2 separate regions of the Homo sapiens genome follow, and region 1 is linked to region 2. Evidence: promoter capture Hi-C in human tissues and cell types (Jung and others, 2019). All regions are on one chromosome and are shown on one strand. The core of a region is centred on a gene start or on the middle of the fragment in contact, and the rest is flanking DNA. Distances in the headings are between cores, read along the strand shown. Region 1 overlaps LOC105376037 (a long non-coding RNA gene). Region 2 holds the start of SHB (SH2 domain containing adaptor protein B).

Region 1 (6,162 bases), core at 2,295-4,794, 280 kb after region 2:
AGGCTTATTGGTAGGAGCTTTGCAAGCATTGTCTCTAAATTTCCCTTTACTGGGGGCAGCCATAACTTGGCAACTACGAGGAAATGCAAGCTCAGTATTGCCACAGCTACAGATTTTTCAAAAAATGCCACATGTGGAAGTTCAAAATGAGGCCTGCTGTGGGCTCAATGATGCCACAAGAAATAGGACATAGGATGATATACCTAACACAGCAAGGAGATGCCTTGTGTGGCCATCAGTAGATCTTTGAGAAAAGACAGAGTCACTCTGTTTTACAGGCGTGAGCCACTGTGCCCAGCCTCATATTCTCTTTATTTAAGAAGATACCGGAGGTTATGGACCTCTAGCAAAATGGACAGGTAAAGCAAGAAAGTGGAATAAAAGTGATCTAAGTGGATCTAAGAAGGAGAGCAGTGCAGGAAGGTATAAAAGACAGGTGTACAAAAAGGGAGGGAAATATGACACATGCTACAACGTGTATGAACCTTGAGAATATTATGCCAAGTGAAATCAGCCAGTCACGAAAGGATATATATACTGTATGTTTCCACTTCTATGCAGTACCTAGAGTCGTCAAATTCACAGAGACAGAAAGAAGAATGGTGGATGCCAGGCACTAGGGTGAGGTGGGGATGGGGAGGTATTGTTTCATGGGTACAGAATTTCAGTTTTGCAAGATGAGAAGAGTTCTGGAGATGGATGGTGGTGATGGCTGCACAACAGTATGAATACACTTAACACTGTGTATGTACTGAATGTACATGTAAAAATTGTTAAGATGATAAATTTTGTTATGCATATTTTACCACAATTAAAGAAAAGACAGCTGTGCAGCAGGCCTGAAGAGCAGCCCCCCCAAAGTGGGAGGAGCACAGAGTGGGAAGTCTCCAGAGGAAAAATGGAAATGGAATGTTGCAATCTATTAAGGCGAGGCAAAAGACTCCAATGCCAGAATAGTGGAAGAAATTAACAAAGTATATAGAATAACAAACAATGGACTGAAACGAGGCAATCACCAACTCCATGAAAAATAAAGGATTGCATAAAATGTACAATCTGTCAAGGCAGATAACAATATTTGCACTGGTAATATTGTAAAAAATGGCTTCTGATTTAACCAGAAATTGTGCTGTAACTATGCCGTGTGTTAGCAAAGCGTGGAGAGGGAGGGATGAAGAGTGTGGAAATAGGAAGAGCCAAAACCACATCTACCTTGTCAGGAAGTCAACACATTCTCTTAAAATTAAGAAATCAAGCAATATCAGTGTATTATATTTAAACATTGAGGTAAAATAGCAGAGAAAAGAGCTGTAGATGAAGGTGGTTGTCTTTTCGGATGGGAACTGGAGGGTGCAATGGGTAGGAATTTTTTCATCTTCTCAAACTGAAATTCGTATACTTAGGCATGAAGTCCCATTTCCACCCTTCAACCCCCACTCCCAAGCACCTGGCATCCCCTGCTCTTTTTCAGAAGCCTTGTAGACTCAAAATTACCTGCACTATTTAGGCGAAAACTAAAAGTGGATATTTTCTAAGGTGTAAGTCATGTTACTGTTTTTCCTCAGGTATACTGTTTTCAGCCTAGAGCAAAAGTAAACTTTTAAGTGGTCTCTGCAGGGATATCTGACATTAAATGTTCATAAAGCTGGAGAAATACCTAGCAAGTTTAAAAGTTAGTGGAGCTTTCCCTGGTACAGAAACTCCTTCACAGAATTCACACTATGCCTTTGATATACCGGTTTCTAGGTTCTTGGGATCTGAGTGTGTATGTGCATTTGCACAAATTTGGTAGTCTGAATCTGGTGTGTTTGATGCTATGACAAATTATGGACAGTGAGCTATGGAAACACAGATGAGGGACAGTTCAGCAGAGGGTCAGAAGATACTCCCTGGAGGAGCTGGTGATCAAGCCAGTTTTTAAGGAGAGGTTAAGCAGAGGGAGGGAGACTGGATTGTTAAGCAGGGTGCATACATGGCATGAAGAATGGCACAGATCAGGGCATGTTTGGGAAATTTACAAGGGATTTGGTGTTGCTCAAGAAATGGAAGTCAGGGAGAAGCAGGATGAGGTGGCAAGGTGAGCAGAGGAGAGGGTCACAGAGAGTCTTTTTTCCCTGTAGGTGATACGATGCTCTCAGAGGGCTTTCAGGCAGGAGAAAGGCATGGTCAAAGCTGTGTTTGTTATTTGTTTTGCAACAAGTTTTTCCATATATTTGCCCCATCAGGCTGAATTGTCATCAAGAAGACACCTATTTTGCCTGTCTCCATATTATGTTTTTAGTTATGAAAAATTTTCAAACAAAATTAGAGAGAAGAGTATTTAAAAAAATAACTATATGCCCATCATCTAGATTCCATTATTAGGATTTTGCCACATTCAATTCATCTCTCTCTCTCTCTCCTTTTTCTGTGAAAATAATTCTTTATTGTGGTAAAATATATATAAACATAAAATTGACCATTTTAATCATTTTTAGATATACAGTTCAGTGATATTAGGTACATTCACATTGTTGTGCATCCATCACCACCATCCATATCCAGAACTTTTTCATCTTCCCAGACTGAAACTCTGTACCCGTGAAACAATGACTCTCACTGACCCGTCTCTCCAGCCTCTGGCAACTAAATATCAACTTTCTATCTCCATGGTTTGAAGGCATTTCATGTAAATGGAATAATACAATATGTGGCCTTTTACTTAGCGTAATATTTTCTAGATTAATTTTACATTGTAGCACATTTAGTCCCTTTTAGGTTTAAATAATATTCTATTGTATGATATACCATGCTTTGTTTATTCACTTATCAGTTGCTGGACATTTGCATTACTTATACTTTTGGCTATTATTAATCATTATGCTATGAACATTCATGTCTAAGTTTTTGTGTAAACATAAGCTTTCAATTTTCTTGGGTATATCCTAGAAGTAGAATTGTCTGCCTGCCTTTCTTTCTTTCTCCCTTCCCTTCCCTCCCCTCCCCTCTCTTTCCTCCTCCCTCCCCCCCTTCCATTCCCCTCTCTTCCCCTCCCTTCCCCTCCCGTCCCTTCTCTTTTCAGAGATGGGGTCTCTGTTACTCAGGCTGATCTCAAACTCTTGGGCTCAAGTGATCATCCTGCCCAGGCTTCTACAGTGCTGGGATTACAGGCATAAGCCACCACACCCCTGGCTGGAATAGCTATGTTATATGGTAACTTTATGTTTAACTTTTTAAGAAGCTGCAAAACTGTTTTTCAGTTTTCAAAGTGGCTGTACCATTTTATAATTCTACCAGCAAGATGAGTGTTCTGAAATTTCTATATCCACAACACTGGTTATAATGTCTTTTTGATTGTAGCCATCCTAGTGGAGGTGAAGTGATATCTCATTGTGATTTAATTTGAATTTCCCAGATGACTAATGATACTGAGTATCTTTTCATATGCTTCTTGGTTGTTCATATATCTTCTTTGAATAAATGTCTGTTTGGATCCTTGGCCCACCTTTAAATTGGGTCATCTATCTTTTTATTATTGAGTAGTAAAGTTCTTTATATATTCTAGATACATGTCCCTTATCAGACATATAATTTTTAAATATTTTCTCCTATTCAGTGAGTTATCTGTTCTAATTTTGATAAAGTCAGATTTTTCAATTTTTTCCTGAATGTGCTTCTGGTGGTATAATATCTAAGAAACCACTGTCAAATCCAAGGTCACAAAGATTTGCCTCTGCATTTTCTTCTAAGAGTTTTATAATTTTAGTTCTGAGATTTAGGCCTTTCAATCATTTAATGTTTTTATATAGTTTAAGATAGGGATCCAACTTCATTCTTTTGCATGTGTATATCCAGTTGTGCTTACACCATGTATTGAAAACATTATTCTTTCCCCATTGAATTGTCTTGGCACCTGTGTAAAAAATCAGCTGATTGTAAGCATAAAGGGTTTTAAAAAAATATTTTTTCCCATCTCTCAACTTTTAGCTGAAGATGAAGTTTTATTTCTGTATCTTAATTCTATTCCATTAATCTATATCTATCCTTATACCTATACAACATTGTCTTGATTACTGTAGCCTTGTAGTAAGTTTTGCAATCAGAAATATAAGTTATTTTGTTCTCACAAAAGAAGAACTTTGTTCTTCTTCAAGATTATTTTGGCTATTCTGAGTCTCTTGAATTTCCATACAAACTTTAGGAGCAATTTGTCATTTTTTGCAATGAAGGCAGTTGGGATTTTGAGAAAAATTGGATTGAATCTGTATTTCAATTTTGGGAATAGTGTTATCTTAGCAATTTTTTTTTAAATTATTGTTATTTGTGGAGATATGGTCTCACTTTGTTGCCTAGGGTGGTCAGGAACTCCTGGGCTCAAGCAGTCATCCTCCCATGACCTCCTATTAATAATATTAAATCATCTGAACCATGAAAATGGGATGGGGTGCCTTTTCAATTATTTAGATCTTTGTTAATTTCCTTTAATAATATTTTGTAGTTTTCAGAGTTTAAGTTTGACATTTCTGACCGGGCACAATGGCTCATGCCTGCAATCCCAACACTTTGGGAGGCTGAATGTGAGGATTGCTTGAGCCCAGAAGTTCAAAATCAGGCTGAGCAACATAGTGAGACTCCCATCTCTACAAATTAAAAAAAAAAAAAAAAAGTTTGACATTTCTTTTGTTGAATTAATTCCCAAATATTTTCTTTTCTTTGATGCTATATAGTGGAATTATTTTTGAAGTTTTATTTTTGGGTTGTTCATTTCAAGGGTACAGAAATATAATTAATTTTTGTATATCCTATAAACTTGCTGAACTTGTTAGTGTTAGTTCTAATGGTTTTGTGTGTGTGTGTGTGTTTGTGTGGGTGGGTGGGTGCCTTAGGATTTTCTATATACCAGATCACATCACGTGCAAATATAGATGGTTTTAATTTTTCCTTTCCTATCTAGATATCTTTTATTGCTTTTACTTACCAAATTACCCTGGACAGAACCCCCAGTATAATGTTGAATGGAAATGGCAAGAGCAGACTTCCTTGTCTTATTCCCGATCTTAAGTGCAAAGCTTTCAGTCTTTCACTATTAAGTGTTATCTGTGGGTTTTTCATAGATGCCTTTTATCAAATGGAGGAGGTTCTTTTCTAATCTTATTTATTGAGGTTTGGTTTTGTTTTTGTTTTTAAATCACGACAGGGTGTTAGACATTCTCGAACGCTTTTTCTGCATCTATTGAGATGGCATAATACATTAATTGATTTCAGATGTTAAAAGACCTTGCATACTTGGGATTAATTCCACTTGGTCACAGTATACAGTCCTTTCTATATGTTGCTGGATTCAGTTTGCTAGTGTTTTGTTGAAGATTTCTGTGTCTGTATTCATAAAGGATATTGATTCATAAAGGAAAAGGATAGTTTCCTTTTCCTGTGATGTCTTTAGTTTTGATATCAGGGTAATACTAGCCTCATCAAATGAATTGGGATGTGTTCCCTCCTCTTCTGTTTTTTGTAAGAGTTTGTGATAACTGGTATTGATTCTTATTTAAATGTTTGGTATAGTTCACCAGTGAAGCCATCTGGGAATGGGCAGACTCTACCTTATTGCTATTACTGATGAGTTTGATATTACCACCTGATATGGTTTGGCTGTGTCCCCACACAAATCTCATCTTGAATTGTAACTCCCACAATTCCCATGTGTCATGGGAGGAACCTGGTGGGAGGTGATTGAATTATGGGGTAGATCTTTCCTGTGCTGTTCTCAGAATAGTGAATAAGTCTCACAAGATTGGATGGTTTTAAAAATGGGAGTTTCCCTGCACAAGCTCTCTATTTGCCTGCTACCATCCATGACTTGCTCCTCCTTGCCTTCCGCCATGATTGTGAGGCCTCCCCTGCCATGTGGAACTGTAAGTCCATTAAACCTCTTTTTCTTCCCAGTCTTGGGTATGTCTTTATCAACAGCATGAAAATGGACTAATACACCACCTCATGAGACCTTGTGCCAGTTATCAATGTATTGTCTCTCAGGTCCAAATTCATCCTTCACTGACTGCTCTGAGAAAATGGATCTGAGCCTTAAATTTTTTTTCCTTTGTTCTCTTTCGTGATGATATGCTTTATAGGTAGAAGGCCCTGAAGAGGCGTTTCAGGAGGAATGGGTTTTGCTTCCTGGTCCAG
Region 2 (6,254 bases), core at 1,444-3,943:
TCTGGAAGTTCTTGGCATAATACTATAGCATTACAATAATTCTGGCTTGCAAATTATACCCCAGCAGAGGTATCACATGGAAAAGTGGATCCGACTCTACGGCCTGATGAAAGTGACATGGAAAAAATAAGTTATGAAATATAACTTCTCTTCCTGAACTTTTGGAAAAGGCAGAGATAACCTTTCCATGTGCAAGACACATGCAGGGAGCAAGCTTCCAGATTCTGGTGAGGACTTTCTTGTCTCAGGTGGCCTGGCCTATTGCCAGGATCTGAGCCCAGAAGTAGAAATGGGAAGGAAGGGAGCTGGGGAGGATTTGTGGTTGGATGAAAGGTGGGGCTTAAAACAAGGATGTCCTTGCCTTTCAGGTTTTCTACTGGGGCCTCCTTACGTGCAAGATAATTAAGTGCCAATGCGACAGAGGAACAATTTAAAGGGTAACGGAGATACTTAAGTCTAGGTATATTCAAAATAAACATCCTAGCCAGGTCAACTTCTGGGTCCTCTCTGCATGCCCCAGACACATCACATCTCTCTCTCTCTCTCTCTCTCTCTCTCTCTCTCTCTCACACACACACACACACACACACACACACACATCCCTTAGATTATTTCCTGTGAAATGCTAAGTAAATAGATCTCAGGCAATGAAGATGCTCTGTAGCTGGTGATAGTATCTGCGACTGTGAGACGTCACATAGTGGGTTTGGAAAATTCAACTGGCCACAGAGGATGACAGTTTTGTCTGACCAAGGAGGGAAAGGGCAAATAGCTTGATTCTGGAATAACAAATTTGAAGTCAATTTCACTTTACCACTGTGTATGGCTGAGCAGACAGAGGTCAGCTTCAGGATAAGACCGAGTTCAAGTCCTGCTTCTATCACTTCTGTGCTGTGGCCTCAGGCATGAGTCTGGGTGGGTTACAGAGAGGAAGCAGTAACAGCTCTCAGGCCTTCCCTGTCCAAATGTCTCAGATTGAAATCTGAGTTTGACCTCTACTTCCAGCGTGGCCAGAACTATGATGTGATCAAAAGAGCCCCTGGCCTTGCTGTCTGCCCTCACAGTTCCCACTGTTACTACAGGATATGGGAAAAACAGACTCCCCCAAAGCACATCTATAACAGACAGACAGCAAATGCAGATTATTGATTTGGGCTATTGTTTTAGTAAATCAACATTCTTAGAGAATTTCTCAGCTCTCAGGTGCCCACATCTTAGAGTTAAGTCACATTTTGAGGGTTGCCCAGGCAAATTCAAAGCAGCACCAGGCCCTAGTGGCAGCTACTTCATCTTTAGGCAGCATTTCCCTCTCAACAGGGAGCATGCCACCTCCCCTGGGTGCAGATCCCAGGAAAAGTTACACTGACCAAATCAGGCCACTCCCTGGGACTGTTTCCTCAATTTTGGTTAATAATCAAAGGATGATCTGAAATCGCAAAGAAGAGACTCTTGGAAAAGACATAATTATGGTGCCACCCGACTTAGGAACTGGCATCCAAGTCCACCTGTGTGACTTTCCTCTGGGCCTCAGTTTCTCCATCTGTAAAATGAGGTCCTGTATTTATTTTTTGAGACGGAATCTCCCTCTGTCGCCCAGGCTGGAGTGAAGTGGTGTGATCTCGGCTCACTGCAACCTCTGCCTCCCAGGTTCAAGCAATTCTCTGCCTCAGCCTTCCGAGTAGCTGCTGGGATTACAGGTACCCGCCACCACACCCGGCTAATTTTTGTATTTTTAGTAGAGACGGGGTTTCACCATCTTGGCCAGGCTGGTATTAAACTCCTGACCTCGTGATCCACCCGCCTCGGCCTCCCAAAGTGCTGGGATTACAGGCGTGAGACACCGCACCCGGCCGAGGTCCTGTATTAAATGGATCCTTGCCAGCTCCTACAACATAAGGCATTAAATGTTCCCACAACTTGCTCCCCGCCGGCTGGCAGCGAACAGGGCTAAAGCCTCGACTTCCTCAGAGGTGAAAAGGTAAGCAAACATTCCGACCTCCCCTAGCCTTGCTCTCGGATTGGTGCTGGGCCCGGCTCCCACCGCCTATCCCGACCACATCCGTCATCTGGACTGCTAATACACTCATTAGCATAAAGATTCCTCCGAAGACCTGGCGCACGGGGCTGAACCGGAGTCTGTCCCTTTAAGGAAGAGGGACAGCCACTCTGTCCCTAAGGGCACTAGGCACTGCATTTCCTCCACACGGGCCACGCTGTAAACTAGACAGGTTCCGTGTTAATCCACTCTCCCTCCTCAACCCCGACAGGGGGATCCCTGGAGTGAACAACGCGCGGGGTCCCGGGGGACTGCGGAAAGGTTTGGCCTCTGCGCGTAGCAGGCTCCGCCAGGCAACCTCTCGCCCGAGGCGGCGGCGAGCTGCAAGCTAGGTGGAGCCGGCTGCGCGGCGGGACCCCAGCGCCCTGGGGCAAGACCCTGGTGCTGGCGCCAGGGCAGCCGCGGGAGGTGGCGTGTGCAGGAGCGGAGAGGTGCGCCCACCCCGGCCCCGGGCGCGAGGGGGGCGGGGCTTGGGCCGCGGCCCGGGGCCAGGCTCGCGGGGATGGGCGGTGCTGGGTCTGCGGGAGCGGGCGGGGGGCGGGGCGCGCGAGCGGGCTCCGGGGGGGCGGGGCGGCGGCGCGGGGCGGGCTCTGGCGGCCTGAGTGTCACACACGCGGCGGCTCGGGAGGCGGCGGCAGTGGCAGCGACAGGCGCCGCCGGGACGGGCACGGGCGCGCGGGCTCCGGCGGGCGCCGGCTGCCTTCCTCCGTCGCTCGCTGTCTCTCCCGGCCGCATTCTCCTCCGCTGCGGGGCCGAGCTCTCCCCAGCGCTCGCAGGAAGGAAGAAGGGAGCCGAGGACGCCGAGAAGTTCCCGCGGCAGCCGCGGATCCCGGCCAAGGCGGAGGCTGCGGCTCCGACGGGGCAGGAGCGCGATCCACGGCGAGGGGCGTACGGCCAAAGGGTCCGCGGCGTGGAGCGCTCGGACCTTCCGCTCTCCCCCGGGCGTGGGCCGGGACCCCATGAGACGCGCCCACGAGGGGCGCGAGATTCCTAGCTTGGGCGGCGCTAGGCGGAGGGAGGTGTTGCAGCCGCCGGAGCCAGAGAGCTGCCGGCAGGAGGCGGCGGCGGCAAGAACTTGAACTTGGCGTCGGGAGCGGGCGCCCCGGACGCCCCCCGCCGGGGCCGGGGCGCCGAGGGACCTGCGCCGCAGCGCTGCCCCCCGAATGGCCGCGGCGGCGGACCGGGCTCCCGCGCCGCGGCCCTAGGCGGCCTCTCGCCATGGCCAAGTGGCTAAACAAGTACTTCAGCTTGGGCAACAGCAAGACCAAGAGCCCCCCGCAGCCGCCGCGGCCAGACTACCGCGAGCAGCGGCGCCGAGGCGAGCGGCCTTCGCAGCCCCCCCAGGCCGTGCCGCAGGCCTCCTCCGCCGCCTCGGCGTCCTGCGGTCCGGCCACCGCCTCCTGCTTCTCAGCCTCTTCGGGCTCGCTGCCCGACGACAGCGGCAGCACCAGCGACCTCATCCGCGCCTACCGCGCGCAGAAGGAGCGAGACTTCGAGGACCCCTACAACGGGCCTGGCTCGTCGCTGCGCAAACTGCGCGCCATGTGCCGCCTGGACTACTGCGGCGGCAGCGGGGAGCCAGGCGGGGTCCAGCGCGCCTTCTCGGCCTCGTCCGCGTCGGGCGCCGCGGGCTGTTGCTGCGCCTCCTCGGGCGCGGGGGCCGCCGCGTCCTCGTCCTCGTCCTCCGGCTCTCCGCATCTCTACCGCAGCAGCAGCGAGCGGCGGCCCGCCACGCCGGCCGAGGTGCGCTACATCTCCCCCAAGCACCGCCTCATCAAAGTGGAGAGCGCCGCGGGCGGTGGGGCCGGGGACCCCCTGGGGGGCGCCTGCGCGGGCGGCCGCACCTGGAGCCCGACGGCCTGCGGAGGCAAGAAACTGCTCAACAAGTGCGCCGCCTCAGCCGCGGAGGAGAGCGGGGCCGGCAAGAAGGACAAGGTAAGGTGCCCCTTGGCCTCTTCCCGAGGTTCCAGAGCCACGGTGCGCACGGGGAAACCGAGGCACCCGCCGCTCTGGTGTTGAGTCTCTACTTCAGCTTCGGCCTAGGACCCTGGGTCGGGGCTGGCGTGCTGCTTCCCGCTTCTGCCTCCTCCCGCGCCCTTTTCCTGGGACCGGCGGCCTCCTGACCCCACCTCTTTCGCCGCTGCTTCCAGAACGTCCCCTCTGAGCGAGAGCGCCCGGCCCAGCCTTGCCCCAGGAAGACGGACCCAGTCAGTCCTTCTGGCTGCCAAGGAGTAAAGTCAGAGTCAGAGCTGTCTAGGACTTCGAAGAGCTTTGACTCCTGACACCCCTTATCCCAGCCTCCACCCTCCGCTCACGCTGTAGGTGGGAAACTGAGGTCCAGAGCAAGGAAGGGACTCGCCCAATATTACACAGCTTTCTTGGTGGCAGATCCGGACCGGCTGTCTCCAGCGTGTATATGTAAATCTCTCGCGGCTGCCCTGCCCGGCCCTGCCCTGCCCCACCCCCAGCTCTAGGTTTCCAAATCCGGGCTGCCTGGTACCGGAGCTGCTCCGGGAACCTCCACGCGTGCTTTTCCGGTTGAAATGCGCTGCCTGCAAGAGCGCTCCTCATCGAACCCGTCAGTTCCTCCCGCTGCGCGCGGGAGGGGGTCAGCCTATCAGGCCCGGCTGGAAGGAGACCCCACCCCTCCTATCCTCACCTGCTTCCTTCCTGACCTCACCCCTACCCCATAAGGTCCCAGGAACACGGGGGGACTTTGTGACAGCCCCCTTCCTAACGCATTAGGCCACCTAGATTCCTCCCTTTGAAGCAGACGAGTTAATTACAGCCAGACTAGGTCCCCTCCTCCCCCTTCACACTCCTGTGAAGCCCTCCCTTCCCCCATAAAATAATACTTGTTCTGTCTTCTGGTGGAAGGCAGTGTTTTGATTAAATCTGAGGCCCGGTGGGAGAGCTCCTTCCTTCTCAGCGCCCTGGTGCGTGGCTGTTGTTCTCCCCACCTTCTTCCCCCAAAGGTAAACCTTTGCCCAGGCCTGGGCTGGGGGAGACTGATTAAGAGTCTGAGTTCCTTTTAGGACTGGATGTCCAGACAGGAGGGAGACAGGCTCTTACCTGCCATCTGGTGCTTGGAAAGGGATCTTTTTTGTTTGCCAGGAGAGAGGAGGAAGGGAATGTCCCTCTAGTTTTTCTGCCTGGCCTCCCCTCCCCGAGGTCCCCAGAATATCCCCTCCCCTGTTTGATCTGCATGGGCAGTCCGTGGAAGATCCCACCTCTCCCTGGAGGCAGTTTGGGGCACCCCTCGGAAGCTTGGACTCTGGGTTTCTAAAGCACCTAGGATGCCACACCTAGATGACGACTAGCTGGGAGCCAGGTGGCTACCTAGGAGCTGCTTTGGGAGAGGGGGCAGATTTCCCTGGGAGCCACCAGGACCCTGGGCCTGTGTTTGGTCAGTGAGGGAAACACCAGATAGGCTCCGTGCAGTCTTATGCATGGCTGAAGCTTGGCTTGGTGCAGGCACTGGGGAAACCTGGAGGTCTTGTATATAAAAGGCACGAGAGGGTCACGGCTAACTGCACTGGACTTTATGCATCCTCCTTGTTACCCTGCAGCCACACCCCAGGTGGGCAGATCTCCTTTCTCTTCCACTGCTAGTGGTTCAAAACTTCAGTAAACATTTTTTCCCAGTTACAGTTAAGACTGTTTCAAACACTAAGGAATGATTTGTTTTATAGCCAGGATGTCAAGATATTTAAGACTTGACTCTTTTCATCACCAGATATTTCTTACGGGTCTTCTCTGTGTCCTCCCCTGCTGGGTGCTGGAGCAGGGACCCTCTGCAGCGAATGCTATGACAGAGGCCATAGTGGCGTGATGGTGATGAGTGCTATGATGAGACCTCGTGTTACAGGGTTACAGGAGGGATGAAGGGCAAGGGAGAGGTTGGGGGGTGTGGCATCGAGGAGTGCACCTTGGAGGCAGGGCCATTATTGTGAGGGAGGGGTGGTCACCATGGTTGGCTGGAGAAGAACCCTGTGCTTCAGGGAACTGCAGGTGAAGTCCCTTGTGGCTGAAATTGAGAGGTTAAGAGTTGGGCAGGGCCTGAGTCAGGGAGGACCTTGTAGGCTAAGCACAGAGGGGGCCTGTGAAGGGATTTAGCTGCGAGAGTGTTGTGATCAGATATGGTTTTTTAGAAGATCTCTCTGGGTTACTTTTCACCTACTAGGTTGTGACTGCGAGA

The links. The method cuts DNA at HindIII sites, captures the fragments that hold promoters and counts their contacts. A contact is called where the count stands out against the background at its distance.
Region 1: a fragment that was not itself captured here is called in contact with the fragment with the promoter of SHB in region 2 in 2 of the 25 tissues and cell types used here (heart left ventricle and thymus).

The regions. Positions count from the first base shown.
Region 1 is chr9:37,791,188-37,797,349 of GRCh38, reverse strand. It overlaps LOC105376037 (a long non-coding RNA gene), which reads left to right. Exons shown (of 3, transcript XR_929599.3): 3 at 6,108-6,162. Among named protein-coding and RNA genes, the nearest start is that of DCAF10, 6.5 kb to the left of the region's middle. The HindIII fragment of the contact is 4,652 bases long and covers 1,219-5,870 here.
Region 2 is chr9:38,065,666-38,071,919 of GRCh38, reverse strand. SHB (SH2 domain containing adaptor protein B) reads left to right here and starts at 2,693. Exons shown (of 6, transcript NM_003028.3): 1 at 2,693-3,991. The coding sequence starts at 3,275. It overlaps LOC105376039 (a long non-coding RNA gene), which reads left to right. Exons shown (of 4, transcript XR_007061483.1): 4 at 369-493. RefSeq lists silencers at 2,283-3,092, 3,513-3,562 and an enhancer at 3,453-4,256. The HindIII fragment of the contact is 6,868 bases long and covers 1-6,254 here.